2 separate regions of the Homo sapiens genome follow, and region 2 is linked to region 1. Evidence: promoter capture Hi-C in human tissues and cell types (Jung and others, 2019). All regions are on one chromosome and are shown on one strand. Each heading gives the region's core, a stretch centred on a gene start or on the middle of the fragment in contact. The rest is flanking DNA. Distances are from core to core; before and after follow the strand shown. Region 1 holds the start of SLC8A3 (solute carrier family 8 member A3). Region 2 overlaps LOC101928046 (a long non-coding RNA gene).

Region 1 (6,220 bases), core at 3,614-6,113:
ATTTAGATATCAAGAGCAGAATAAAAAGTTGAGTTGCATATTCATTCAAAGGAAACTATACATAAATGAAAAATCACAAATTGCTGCTACACACAACAATATGAATGAACATCACCAAAATTATGCTGAGCAAAGAACCCCCAAAACAGTACTTTCCATCTGCTTCCATTTACGTAGAGTTCAAAGTCACATAAGATTAATGTGTGGTTTTAGAAGTCAGGAGAGCCGTTCCCTCTGGAGAAGAGGAAGAAGCATCGCTGGGAGAGGCACGAGGGGAGCTGCTGGGGTACTGGTAATATTTATTGTTCTGGATGATGATTAAATAAAATATATTCACATTGTGAAAATTCTTTGAGCTATAGTCATGACTTGTGCACATTTCTGTATGTATATCCTACTGCAATAAACTTTATAAAAGGAAAAATAAATAATTGACAAATTTTTGAAATACAAGTTATAATGAGATTAAAAATAATATAACGCATAGGGAAGAATTATGTCTCACTAAATAAATACCCTATTATCAGACAGGGTTTACTAAACTTCCATCCTCCCTACAGAGCTGTTCCAGAACTTACTTTTAGCTTCCACTTGACTGCTGTTGTTTCTCAACTGCTATCAGATTGTATAGTCCAAGGGCTGTGGAATGCTGGCACCTAGGTTGCTTGTGAGAAGAGACACTGTGGCTTGTGTGGGATGCAGTGCCACTGGTGGCCAGGACTGGCAGGTCGTCTGCTTATGAAGTGCCTGAGGCCCCGCTTTTGGAGAGGCACTGACTTGTGGAGTTCTGCAGCATAATGGCAAATACTGGGGCCCCACCAAGAAGCCATGTGGTCCCTTCCCACTATTCATCCCATCTGCCCTATTACTTGCTGCTCAGCCTCTAGAGAAAGGGTATTCTATGACAAGGACTCACAGAATTAGGGCTACTATGACAAAATACCAAAGACTGAGTGGCTTAACTAACAGAAATTATTTTCTCATAGTTCTGGAGCCTAGAACTCCCACATCAAGGTGTCAGCACATTTGATTTCTCTCTCCTTGGCTTGCCTTCTCGCTGTGTCCTCACAAGGTTGTCCCTCTGTCTGTCTGTGTCCTAATCTCCTCTTCTTATAAGGATAGCAGTCATAGTGGATTAGGGCCCACACTGACGGCACTGTTTTAATTTTATTACCTTTTTAAAGACCCTGTCTCAAAACCCAGGCACATTCTGGGTACTAAGGGCTAGGGCTTCAACACACAAGTTTTGGGACACACAATTCAGTCCATAAAAGAGTCTGTCTAGTTCTTACCAAGCTCTGTGACTGGGCTGAATCCTGTAGCTTCTCGGGTCCTGAGTTTCTTCCCAACTTGAAAATGAGGTTTGTGGCTCTTGCTCCCAATGCTGATGTTACACAGCTTACTTTCCATCTTCCTTGTGAACATCTCCTTGGGTTCCAGTACAGCTAGATATAAGTAACAATGGCAGAAATGCAAGTACGGTGTCATTACATTTAATGTTTTCCAACCCTGTATGCATGTAGTGGGGAGAAAAAAAGAAGTGAGAATGTCCAGAGTTGAAAGCAGTCTGAGACTTCATAGGCCACGTGAAGGTTGGCTGTAGAACTTAAGATGGGAGAGAAGCAGGGTTGGGGGAGAACAAAAGTAGGGGAGAAGGAGAATTGATATATATTTGGGGATTGGTCTGTACCAGAAACTGTAATCTCACTGAAGCTTCACAACAACCTCACGAGGTGGGTATTATTATTATTAATAATAATAATTAATAATAATAATAATAATTATTATTATTATTAATAATAATAATTATTATTATTCCCATTTTACTGGTGAGGACACTGAGGCTCAGAATGCAGAGCTGGGCTTTGCTATTTCAGTCTACCTAGAACTCAGAGGAACCTACGCAAGTCAGCTCTGCCGACAGCGTTGGTTGAACATGCTTTGGCACCTCTTGCCTTCCTCCCCGCAGCATTGCCCTGTCACAGGTGACAAGAGGAAGACAAGGTTCCTGTCTGTTTTGTTTGGTAGTTCTAAAAAAATGACATGACCAATTCTGTTGTTGTTGCTGGTTCAGTTTTAGTGAATAGGTAATGTTCACTGAAAATATATCAATAGATATTAACAAGCAAACAAATAAAATTCTGGCACAAGCAAAACTAAGCCACAGTGACAGAAAGCAGATCAATAGTTGCCTGTGGGAAGAGCGGATGAGTATAAAGGGGCCTGAGAGGACTTCTGGGGGAGATGAAAATGTTCTATGTCTTGACTGAGGTTGTTGCTCTACATGTATGTACTTGTATAAAAACTCTTCAAACTATACACTTAAAACAGGTGAGTTTTTAGTAGTAGTAGTGATGTTTGGATACCTGTAACTTTATCTCCATTAGAAATGTCAGATATTTTAATATCATCAGTTAGTTTTTGCAGGTATCTTGAAATATTATTCATGTTCCTCACTACTGGGATAGTTTTGCAGATTCATGTTCCTCACTACTGAGATAGTCATTTAGCCTGTGCACTAGACCTTGCTTTTGATGCCTTCATAAAGCATAGATCAGAAAAAAGGTGAGTTGTTGTATGTAAATTACACCTCAATAAAGTTGATTGATACAAAGAGAAACAAAATCACCAGAAATCCCACCACCAAGAGATAACCACTACCATTTTGGGGTTTTTATGCTGCCAGGGCATTCATCCCCACCCCGCCACCCCCGCACATGCTGTGTTACACTGTGTTCTGGGGTTTTTTTTCTCTCTGTCTACGATATATTATAAAAACCTTTCCACACCAGTACACAGAATGCTGCATCTGTATTTTTACAGTGGTAGAATACAGCATTATGTCAACAAAACATGTTTACTTCACCAATTTGTTGTGTTGGAAAATTAAGATGTTTCCAATTTTTCACTCTTAAAAACACTACCATGAATATCCTTGTAACTAAATATTTGAGCATATCCTTAATGATTGCCATAGAATAAATTTCTTCCAGTAAAATTACTGGGTCACAGGCATTCACGTTTTTAAGGAATTTGATGTATCTTTCAAAATTGCCCTACCTAAAAACTCTATCAATTTAGGTGCCCATTAGCCATCTCTTTGTCTCTACTGTAGACTCTCAATGTGTAGACTCAGCATTGTGACTCTCCACGGGAGCAGACACAAGGTAAGTCCCAGTAACTGACATATCCTGAGATCCCACAACTTTAGAAGCTATTGAAACCTTTCAAAGTCAGTCCCAGCCCTAACTTTAAATGAAATTCAAGACCCATAAAGGTTCAGGGGTCTGAAAGCACTCCTACTGCTCCTACTGAGCACATCCAGGATTCTGACTCCGGACTCAGGCCAGAAACCACCACACAGCTTGCTAACGGAACACTGAGTCAAAGGACCAGCAAAGACCTCCTGCCATCTCAGGCTTAGAGATTCCCTAGTCTCTACACCCCCTTAATCTGTTTGAACCAAGCCTTGCTCCAGAGCAGCCGGGCAAAGGAGCCAGGGATCTCAGGAGTCACACACACTGTTGACGTCTCAGCACAACTCCGGTTGGTTGCATTTTATTTCAATCCTTGGCTCTGCTGCACGTGGCCTTGGGATGGTTATTTAACCTAAGGCTCAATTTCCTCAACAAAAAAATGGAGTTGGTAATTGTACCTAGCTCACAGAGTTTTAGTAGGATGGCATGAGGTAATACAATCAAATTCACTAGCACCACTCCTGGCCCTTAAAAGGTGCTGCTATTTGGTAAGTATTATTATCATTTGTTGGCCCCTCACACTTAGCCTCAGGCAGCAGAGAGGCCTGAAAGAGAACAACTTCCTGCCCTTACATTCTGACTTTTCTGCACTGGTGTCGCTACAGAAGGCCAGCCACCAGGCTCATTTTAGATCTGCCTAATGCCACCGATAAGCTGAGGGCTTGAAACCCCATTCTTAGGAGTGGCTTGCCCACCCCGCATGCCTCTAGGACCAAGCCTGACAAATATAGCAGAAATTACAGGCATCTGATTTAAGGCTACGTGTGTACACTTCGCCTGAGCCAAGCCCCAAGCCCTAGTCCCGCTGCTGCATCAAAGGACCAGCTCTCTTCCAGCCTCCAGGCCCAGAGTAAGCAGCAATTTGGGAGGCAGCCCCCTCTTATTTTTAGCTTTAGAAACCCGAAAAGCCAACATACCAGAGCTCACCCAAGCGTCTCTCACAAACTGTTGTTTGACTTGGGTTGAGAAAATGACAGGCTGGGTTCTGCACCAAGAAGAGAAGAAAAAAAGAGGGGGAAAAAAGGAGTTTTCTTTTCCCTCCGCTGCCAATCTCCATCCCCCTCAACTCCTCCCCTAGGCCTGGGTGGACCCTGCCTGGGTAATAGTTCCCTGCTATATTTAAAAACCACAGATGTGTTTGGTGGAGACTTAATTTCGGAATTGCAGGCAGCGTCTCCTGAGGACAAGGGGAAAGCCGGTGCCGCGCGCCCGCCTGCTGCCTGGAGCTCCCAACTCGGCGGAATCCAGGTCAGGACGCGCCGCCGTTTTGACGTGCTGCCGGCCGGGAGGCGCGGGCGCCAGGCTCCAACGACTAGGGTGGGTGGCCGCGGGGCAGGGGTTGGATCTGAATTCGTCCCTCGGGGGCTCTGGATGCGGGATGCGGGATGCGGGATGCGGGCTCGACTTCCTCGCTGCTGGTCGAGGAGCGTTCTGAGAGTCTCCCCTCCGCGCGCGAGGATAAATATGCGCGGCTTGTCAGTCAGTGCGGCGCTGTCTCCCAGCTGATAGGGTGACGTTCCGTTTGGAGGCTTGGAGATTGGCTTTTTGATTTGGCTTCTTCCGGCAGCTTAATGGGCAAAGCTCTCCGCTCGCCCAGAAACCAGCCTCTCCGCGCGTCCCCTCTGCGCGCGGCGAGGCCGAGACGTCTCCCGCGGTGACAGCGTGCAAGGCGGAGACCCGGCGCGCTCCCAGCCCAGGGAAAGCCCAGGCGACGCGACCGCAAGCCCGAGCCCAGGTCCCTCGGAGCCGCCAGGGCGCGCCGGGCTGCTTGCCTTCCTGCCCCTTCCTGCAGGAATCCCCCGCCGCCCGCGGCCGGGACTCCGGGCCTCTCCCGGGCGTAGATTCCAGTCACCGCTCTGGGTCGGGGTTTCCCTCTTTCTGAAATCCGTGCGGAAGGACCCCTCCCGGGGCCCCTCGCCCTGGCCCCAGACACCCTCCCTCCCAGACCCCGCGCTCCAGATGCGCTGCCCCGCAGCTCCCTGACAGCTGCGAGCCCACGAACCCCGGCGGGAGGGCGGCGGCGGCGGACTGACATGCCCCGGACGCGGCTGCGGCCGGCGGGCAGCCCGCGGGGGCGATGAGCCGCTGCGACCGGTGAGGCGCCGGGCGGCGGGGGCATCGCGTACCTTCCTCACCCCCCTCCCTTGCCCACTCCGCTCGGGAGGCCGAGAGGAAACGGTGAGTAATGGGGTGAGCCTCCTGCCCTTCCCCCTTAGCGGGCAGCCGAGACATGGGAGGTAGAGGTTGGGGGGCTTGGGATGCCCCTAAGAGGATCCCTGATTGTGAGTAACGGGGTTAAGTTATTTCTCAAGATCATTCATATGAACCGCCTTCCTGTGGATTTAGTGCCAGGAGAAGTGGGGTGAGGGTGCCCCGGAAAGTGTACATTGTGTATGCAGTGTTGGGGGGGCAGATCTGGCAGAGTGGGTGTCTACAGGAGGGTGCCGCCGGGTGGGGAGGGGCAGAGAGAGATGCCTGGGCAGGTGGGTACAGTTGGATCGTGAGCATGCTGGGTTGGTAGCGGGTGCTGTTTGGGGAGACTGACTGCTGTGTTGTGTGTGCTGGATGCATGTCGGCATATGTGTGCCACCTGGGCCAGGGCGTGTTGTGCTTCTGGTGCTGTGAGTGTCCGCCGGGTTTGGGGGCTAGCAGGGAAGCGCGTTATCCACTCGGCGCGCGCCCGCGTGCACATACGCACGCACGCGCTCACCCCAATCTCGGGACTCCACCGCCGCGGGTCGGGAGCTGCAGCCCCAGAGCACCCACCGCTGGGGCCAAGGGGGCGAGGGAGAAGGAGGGTTTCTCCAGTGCTGCACTCTCCAGCCCCTGGTGGTCTGCGTGATCCGGGACTCGGTGGAGAGAATCGAAATATATAACTAACCCTCCCCCGATCCCCCAACACACACGCGCGCGCGGACACACACACACACACACACACACACACACACACACACACAGTCAAA
Region 2 (6,621 bases), core at 738-3,237, 120 kb before region 1:
GAGACCAGCCTGGCCAATATGGTGAAACCCCGCCTCTACTAAAAATATAAAAATTAGCCAGGCGTGGTGGTGGGTGCCTGTAGTCCTAGCTACTCGGGAGGCTGAGGCAGCAGAATTGCCTGAACCCGAGAGGCGGAGGTTGCAGTGAGCTGAGATCGTGTCATTGCTCTCCAGCCTGGGTGACAGAGCAAGCCTCCATCTCAAAAAAAAAAAAAAAAAAAAGAATATTCACAAATAGTTCCCAAATTATGTAGAAATCAGGTAGAGAGAAACAAAGGGAATATACTTTACTCAATTGTTAAAAGCTGTAAATAGCTTAAAAGTCTTTTTGACTCTGAAAAACAAAACAAAGGATCAGCAACGTTTTATTCTATTAGTTTAGTCCATGCACTTAATTCCTATTCTGTTTGTTATTCAGGAGCATTTCAACTCTCTATGAGCCCTGAAAGTTTCTCCTCTATTCTGATGTCACAATCTCCAAAGCTATCAGAAAACTGCATTCAAGAGCACCTGTTAAGAGTTTTATAGCTGATTATAAAACCACCTTCTAAAGAGGACCAAAACAAGACAAGAAGGGCAGCCGTAGTCAAAGACACAATTGACAAGGAAATTTGTTACCTCTGTGTCACACAATAATTTAACATAACAATTATAATTATTACTGATAACATACACTAAGTCATATCAGAATTATAGGAGTTTCCCATAATTTTGGAACACATACCAGCAACATATTTATACAAATACGGCCCAAAGAAAAACCAAATACCATTTCATATTTGACAATGCTTCCTGTATAATTTCTATATCAAATAAGCCAAACATGTCATTTTTTGACTTTAGGGATCCTATTAATAATATCTTAAAGGATTAATTAGGTCAGAAATGACATAATGTATAATTTGATTTTGGAAAGTTTGTCAAATATCAAAGGTTTAAAATACTTGATACCAGGCCAGGCATGGTGGCTCATTCCTGTAATCCCAGCACTTTGGGAGGCCAAGGTGAGTGGATCACCTGAGGTCAGGAGTTTGAGACCAGCCTGGCTAATATGGTGAAACCCCATCTCCACTAAAAATACAAAAAATTAGCCAGGTGTGGTGGTGCACTTCTGTAGTCCCAGCTACTTGGAAGGCTGAGGCAGGAGAATTGCTTGAACACAGGAGGCAGAGGTTGCAGTGAGCTGAGATCATGCCATTGCACTCCAACCTGGGCAACAGAGCGAGACTCCATTTTAAAAAGTAATAATAATAATAATAATAATAAATAAATAAAACACTTGATATCACAAAATGGGATTACAGGCCATTGTAAAGTAAGTCATTCATTTAACCAAAGTGATAACTCAAGGATTTCAAAAAAGAGAAAACCTTCATTCTTTGAGAGAGAAGACTTAATTTTCCAAATAATAAGCCCTAATAAAAATAGCATGAAGCCAATTAAATTTGTTTTTCAAATTTTACCCATATGCTAGTCTTGCAGAGGTGTGACTTTGACATTAATGGTTAATTTGTAGAGAAACTGAACTTATTTTATCTCTTAAAATCGGCCCTCACAATCTCACATGCCCACCTCTTCCACAATAGTCCCTGGGCCTTGTGGAGTTGAACGGCTTTAATTTCTGGGCCTGTGTCTCAAGAAGGTAGTTTATTTTGATTGGCATCTTCTATGGGGCCTGAAGATGAGGCTTTAATTGCTGTCAGTGTTTAAGAGTTAGAAAGGGATGGCCGAATAGGAACTGCTCCAGTCTACAGCTCCCAGTGTGAGTGACACAGAAGATGGGTATTTCTGCATTTCCAACTGAGGTACAAGGTTCATCTCACTGGGACTTGTTGGACAGTGGGTGCAGCCCATGTGAGTGTGAGTCAAAGAAGGGCGGGGTATCGCCTCACCCTGGAAGCACAAGGGTTCGGAGAATTCCCTTTCCTAGCAAAGGGAAGCCGTGACAGACGGTACCTGGAAAATCGGGACACTCCCACCCTAATACTGCGCTTTTCCAATGGTCTTAGCAAACGGCACACCAGGAGATTATATCCCATGCCTGGCTGGGAGGGTCCCATGCCCATGGAGCCTTGCTCACTGCTAACACAGCAGTCTGAGATTGAACTGCAAGGTGGCAGTGAGGCTGAGGGAGGGGCGTCTGCAATTGCTGAGGCTTGACTAGGTAAACAAAGCGGCCGGGAAGCTTGAACTGGGTGGAGCCCACTGCAGCTCTAGGAGGCCTGCCTGCCTCTGTAGACTCCACCTCTGGGGTCAGGGCACAGCTGAACAAAAGGCAGCAGAAACTTCTGCAGACTTAAACGTCCCTGTCTGACAGCTTTGAAGAGAGTAGTGGTTCTCCCAGCACGGAGTTTGAGATTTGAGAACTGACAGACTGCCTCCTCAAGTGGGTCCCTGACCCCCGAATAGCCTAACTGGGAGACAACTCCCAGTAGGGGCCGACTGACACCTCATACAGCCGGGTGCCCCTCTGAGACGAAGCTTCTAGAGGAAGGATCAGGCAGCAACATTTGCTGTTCTGCAATATTTGCTGTTCTGCAGCCTCCGCTAGTGATACCCCAGCAAACAGGGTCTGGAGAGGACCTCCAGCAAACTCCAACAGACCTGCAGCTGAGGGTCCTGACTGTTAGAAGGAAAACTAACAAACAGAAAGGAATAGGATCAACATCAATAAAAAGGACATCCACACCAAAACCCCATCTGTAGGTCACCATCATCAAAGACCAAAGGTAGATAAAACCACAAAGATGGGGAGAAACCAGAGCAGAAAAGCTGAAAATTCTAAAAGTCAGAGCACCTCTTCTCCTCCAAAAGAATGCAGCTCCTCACCAGCAATGGAACAAAGCTGGACGGAGAATGACTTTGACAAGTTGACAGAAGTAGGCTTCAAAAGATCAGTAAGTAAAACAAACTTCTCTGAGCTAAAGGAGGATGTTCAAACCCATCGCAAAGAAGCTAAAAACATTGAAAAAAGATTAGACAAATGGATAACTAGAATAAACAGCGTAGCGAAGACCTTAAATGACCTGATGGAGCTGAAAACCATGGCACAAGAACTACATGATGCACGCATAAGCTTCAGCAGCCGATTTGATCAAATGGAAGAAAGGGTATCAGTGACTGAAGATCAAATGAATGAAATGAAGTGAGAAGAGAAGTTTAGAGAAAAAAAGAGTTAAAAGAAACGAACAAATCCTCCAAGAAATATGGGACTATGTGAAAAGACCAAATCTTCGTCTGATTGGTGTACCTGAAAGTGACGGGGAGAACCAAGTTGGAAAACGCTCTTCAGGATATTATCGAGGAGAACTTCCCCAACCTAGCAAGGCAGGCCAACATTGAAATTCAGGAAATACAGAGAATGCCATAAAGATACTCCTTGAGAAGAGCAACCCCAAGACACATAATTGTCAGATTCACCAAGGTTGAAATGACAGAAAAAATGTTAAGGGCAGCCAGAGAGAAAGGTCGCGTTACCCACAAAGGGAAGCCCATCAGACTAACAGCGGACCTCTCAGCAGAAACTCTATAAGCCAGAAGAGAGTGGGGGCCAATATTCAACATTCTTAAAGAAAATAATTTTCAACCCAGAATTTCATATCCAGCCAAACTTCATAGGTGAAGGAGAAATAAAATCCTTTACAGACAAGCAAATGCTGAGGGATTTTGTCACCACCAGCCTTACAAGAGCTCCTGAAGGAAACACTAAACATGAAAAAGAACTGGTACCAGCCACTGGAAAAACATGCCAAATTGTAAAGACCATTGATGCTAGGAAGAAACTGCATCAACTAACAAGCAAAATAACCAGCTAACATCATAATGACAGGATCAAATTCACATATAACAATATTAACCTTAAATGTAAATGGGCTAAATGCCCCCAATTAAAAGACACAGACTGGCAAATTCGATAATGAGTCAAGACGCATCATCAGTGTGCTGTATTCAGGAGACCCATCTCATGTGCAGAGACACACATAGGCTCAAAATAAAGGGATGGAGGAAGATCTACCAAGCAAATGGAAAGCAAAAGAAAAGCAGGGGTTGCAATCCCAGTCTCTGATAAAACAGACTTTAAGCCAACAAAGATCAAAAGAGACAAAGAAGGCCATTACATAATGGTAAAGGGATCAATTCAACAAGAAGAGATAACTATCCTAAATATATATGCACCCAATACAGGAGCACCCAGCTTCATAAAGCAAGTCCTTAGAGACCTACAAAGAGACTTAGACTTCCACACAATAATAATAGGAGACTTTAACACTCCACTGTCAACATTAGACAGATCAATGAGACAGAAAGTTAACAAGGATATCCAGGACTTTAACTCAGCTCTGCACCAAGCAGACCTAATAGACTTCTACAGAACTCTCCACCCCAAATCAACAGAATATACATTCTTCTCCGCACCACATGGCACTTATTCCAAAATTGACCACATAGTTGGAAGTAAAGCGCTCCTCAACAAATGTAAAAGAACAGAAATTATAACAAACTGTCTCTCAGACCACAGTGCAATCAAATTAGAACTCAGGATTAAGAAACTCACTCAAAACCACTCAACTACATGGAAACTGAACAACCTGCTCCTGAATGGCTATTGAGTAAATAACTAAGTGAAAGCAGAAATAAAGATGTTCTTTGAAACCAATGAGAACAAAGACATGACGTACCAGAATCTCTGGGACACATTTAAAGTAGTGTGTAGAGGGAAATTTATAGCACTAAATGCCCACAAGAGAAAGCAGGAAAGATCTAAAATTGACACCCTAAAATCACAATGAAAAGAACTAGAGAAGCAAGAGCAAACACATTCAAAAGCTAGCAGAAGGTAAGAAATAACTAAGATCAGAGCCAGAACTGAAGGAGATAGAGACATGAAAAACCCTTCAAAAAATCAATGAATCTAGGAGCTGGTTTTTTGAAAAGATCAACAAAATTGATAGACCACTAGCAAGACTAATACAGAAGAAAAGAGAGAAGAATCAAATAGACTCAATAAAAAATGATAAAGGGGATGTCACCACCAATCCCACAGAAATACAAATGACCATCAGAGAATACTATAAACACCTCTGTGCAAATAAACTAGAAAATCTACCTTCCTGGACACATACACCCTCCCAAGACTAAACCAGGAAGAAGTTGAATCCCTGAATAGATCAATAACAGGCTCTGAAATTGAGGTAATAATTAATAGCCTACCAACCAAAAAAAGTCCAGGACCAGATGGATTCACAGCCGAATTCTACCAGAGGTACAAAGAGGAGCTGGTACCATTCCTTCTGAAACTATTCCAATCAATAGAAAACAAGGGAATTCTCCCTAACTCATTTTATGAGGCCAGCATCATCCTGATACCATAGCCTGGCAGAGACACAACAAAAAAAGAGAATTATAGACCAATATCCCTGATGAACATTGAAGTGAAAATGCTCAATAAAATACTAGCAAACTGAATCCAGCAGCACATCAAAAAGCTTATCCATCATGATCAAGTTGGCTTCATCCCTGGGATGCATGGCTGGTTTAACATATGCAAATCAATAAACGTAATCCATTATATAAACAGAACCAAAGACAAAAACCACATGATTGGGGCTGGGAGCGGTGGCTCACACCTGTAGTCCCAACACTTTGGGAGGCCAAGGTGGGCAGATCACGAGGTCAGGAGATTGAGACCATCCTGGCTAACATGGTGAAACCCCATCTCTACTAAAAATACAAAAAATTAGCTGGGTGTGGTGGTGGGTGCCTGTAGTTGCAGCTACTCGGGAGGCTGAGGCAGGAGAATGGCGTGAACCTGGGAGGCGGAGCTTGCAGTGAGCCAAGATCGCGCCACTGCACTCCAGCCTGGGCAACAAAGCGAGACTCTGTCTCAAAAACAAAAACCAAAAAAAAGCCCCACATGATTATCTCAATAGATGCAGAAAAAGCATTCAACAGCCCTTCATGCTAAAAACTCTCAATAAACTAGGTATTGATGGGACGTATCTCAAAATAATAAGAGCTATTTATGACAAACCCACAGCCAATATCATACTGAATGGGCAAAAACTGGAAGCATTCCCTTTGAAAACTGGCACAAGACAGGGATGCCCTCTCTCACCACTCCTATTCAACATAGTGTTGGAAGTTCTGACCAGGGCAATCAGGCAGGAGAAAGAAATAAAGGGTATTCAGTTAGGAAAAGAGGAAATCAAATTGTCCCTGATTGCAGATGACATGATTGTATATTTAGAAAACCCCATCGTCTTAGCCCAAAATCTCCTTAAGCTGATAAGTAACTTTAGCAAAGTCTCAGGATACAAAATCAATGTGAAAAAATCACAAGCATTCCTATACACCAATAAGAGACAAACAGAGAGCCAAATCATGAGTGAACTCCCATTCACTATTACTTCAAAGAGAATACCTAGGAATCCAACTTACAAGGGACGTGAAGGACCTCTTCAAGGAGAACTACAAACCACTGCTCAACAAAATAAAAGAGGACACAAACAAATAGAAGAACATTCCATGCTCACAGATAGGAAGAGTCAGTATCATGAAAATGGCCATGCTGCCCAAGATAATTTATAGATTCAATGCCATCCCCATCAAGCTACCAATGAC

What was found. The method cuts DNA at HindIII sites, captures the fragments that hold promoters and counts their contacts. A contact is called where the count stands out against the background at its distance.
Region 2: a fragment that was not itself captured here is called in contact with the fragment with the promoter of SLC8A3 in region 1 in 2 of the 25 tissues and cell types used here (H1 embryonic stem cells and pancreas).

What each region holds. Positions count from the first base shown.
Region 1 is chr14:70,187,594-70,193,813 of GRCh38, reverse strand. SLC8A3 (solute carrier family 8 member A3) reads left to right here and starts at 4,863. Exons shown (of 7, transcript NM_182932.3): 1 at 4,863-5,435. It also overlaps the pseudogene LOC646548. RefSeq lists silencers at 4,889-5,218, 5,289-5,428. The HindIII fragment of the contact is 13,926 bases long and covers 1-6,220 here.
Region 2 is chr14:70,306,298-70,312,918 of GRCh38, reverse strand. All of the region lies in intron 4 of LOC101928046 (a long non-coding RNA gene), which reads right to left. Among named protein-coding and RNA genes, the nearest start is that of COX16, 50 kb to the left of the region's middle. The HindIII fragment of the contact is 4,589 bases long and covers 1-4,281 here.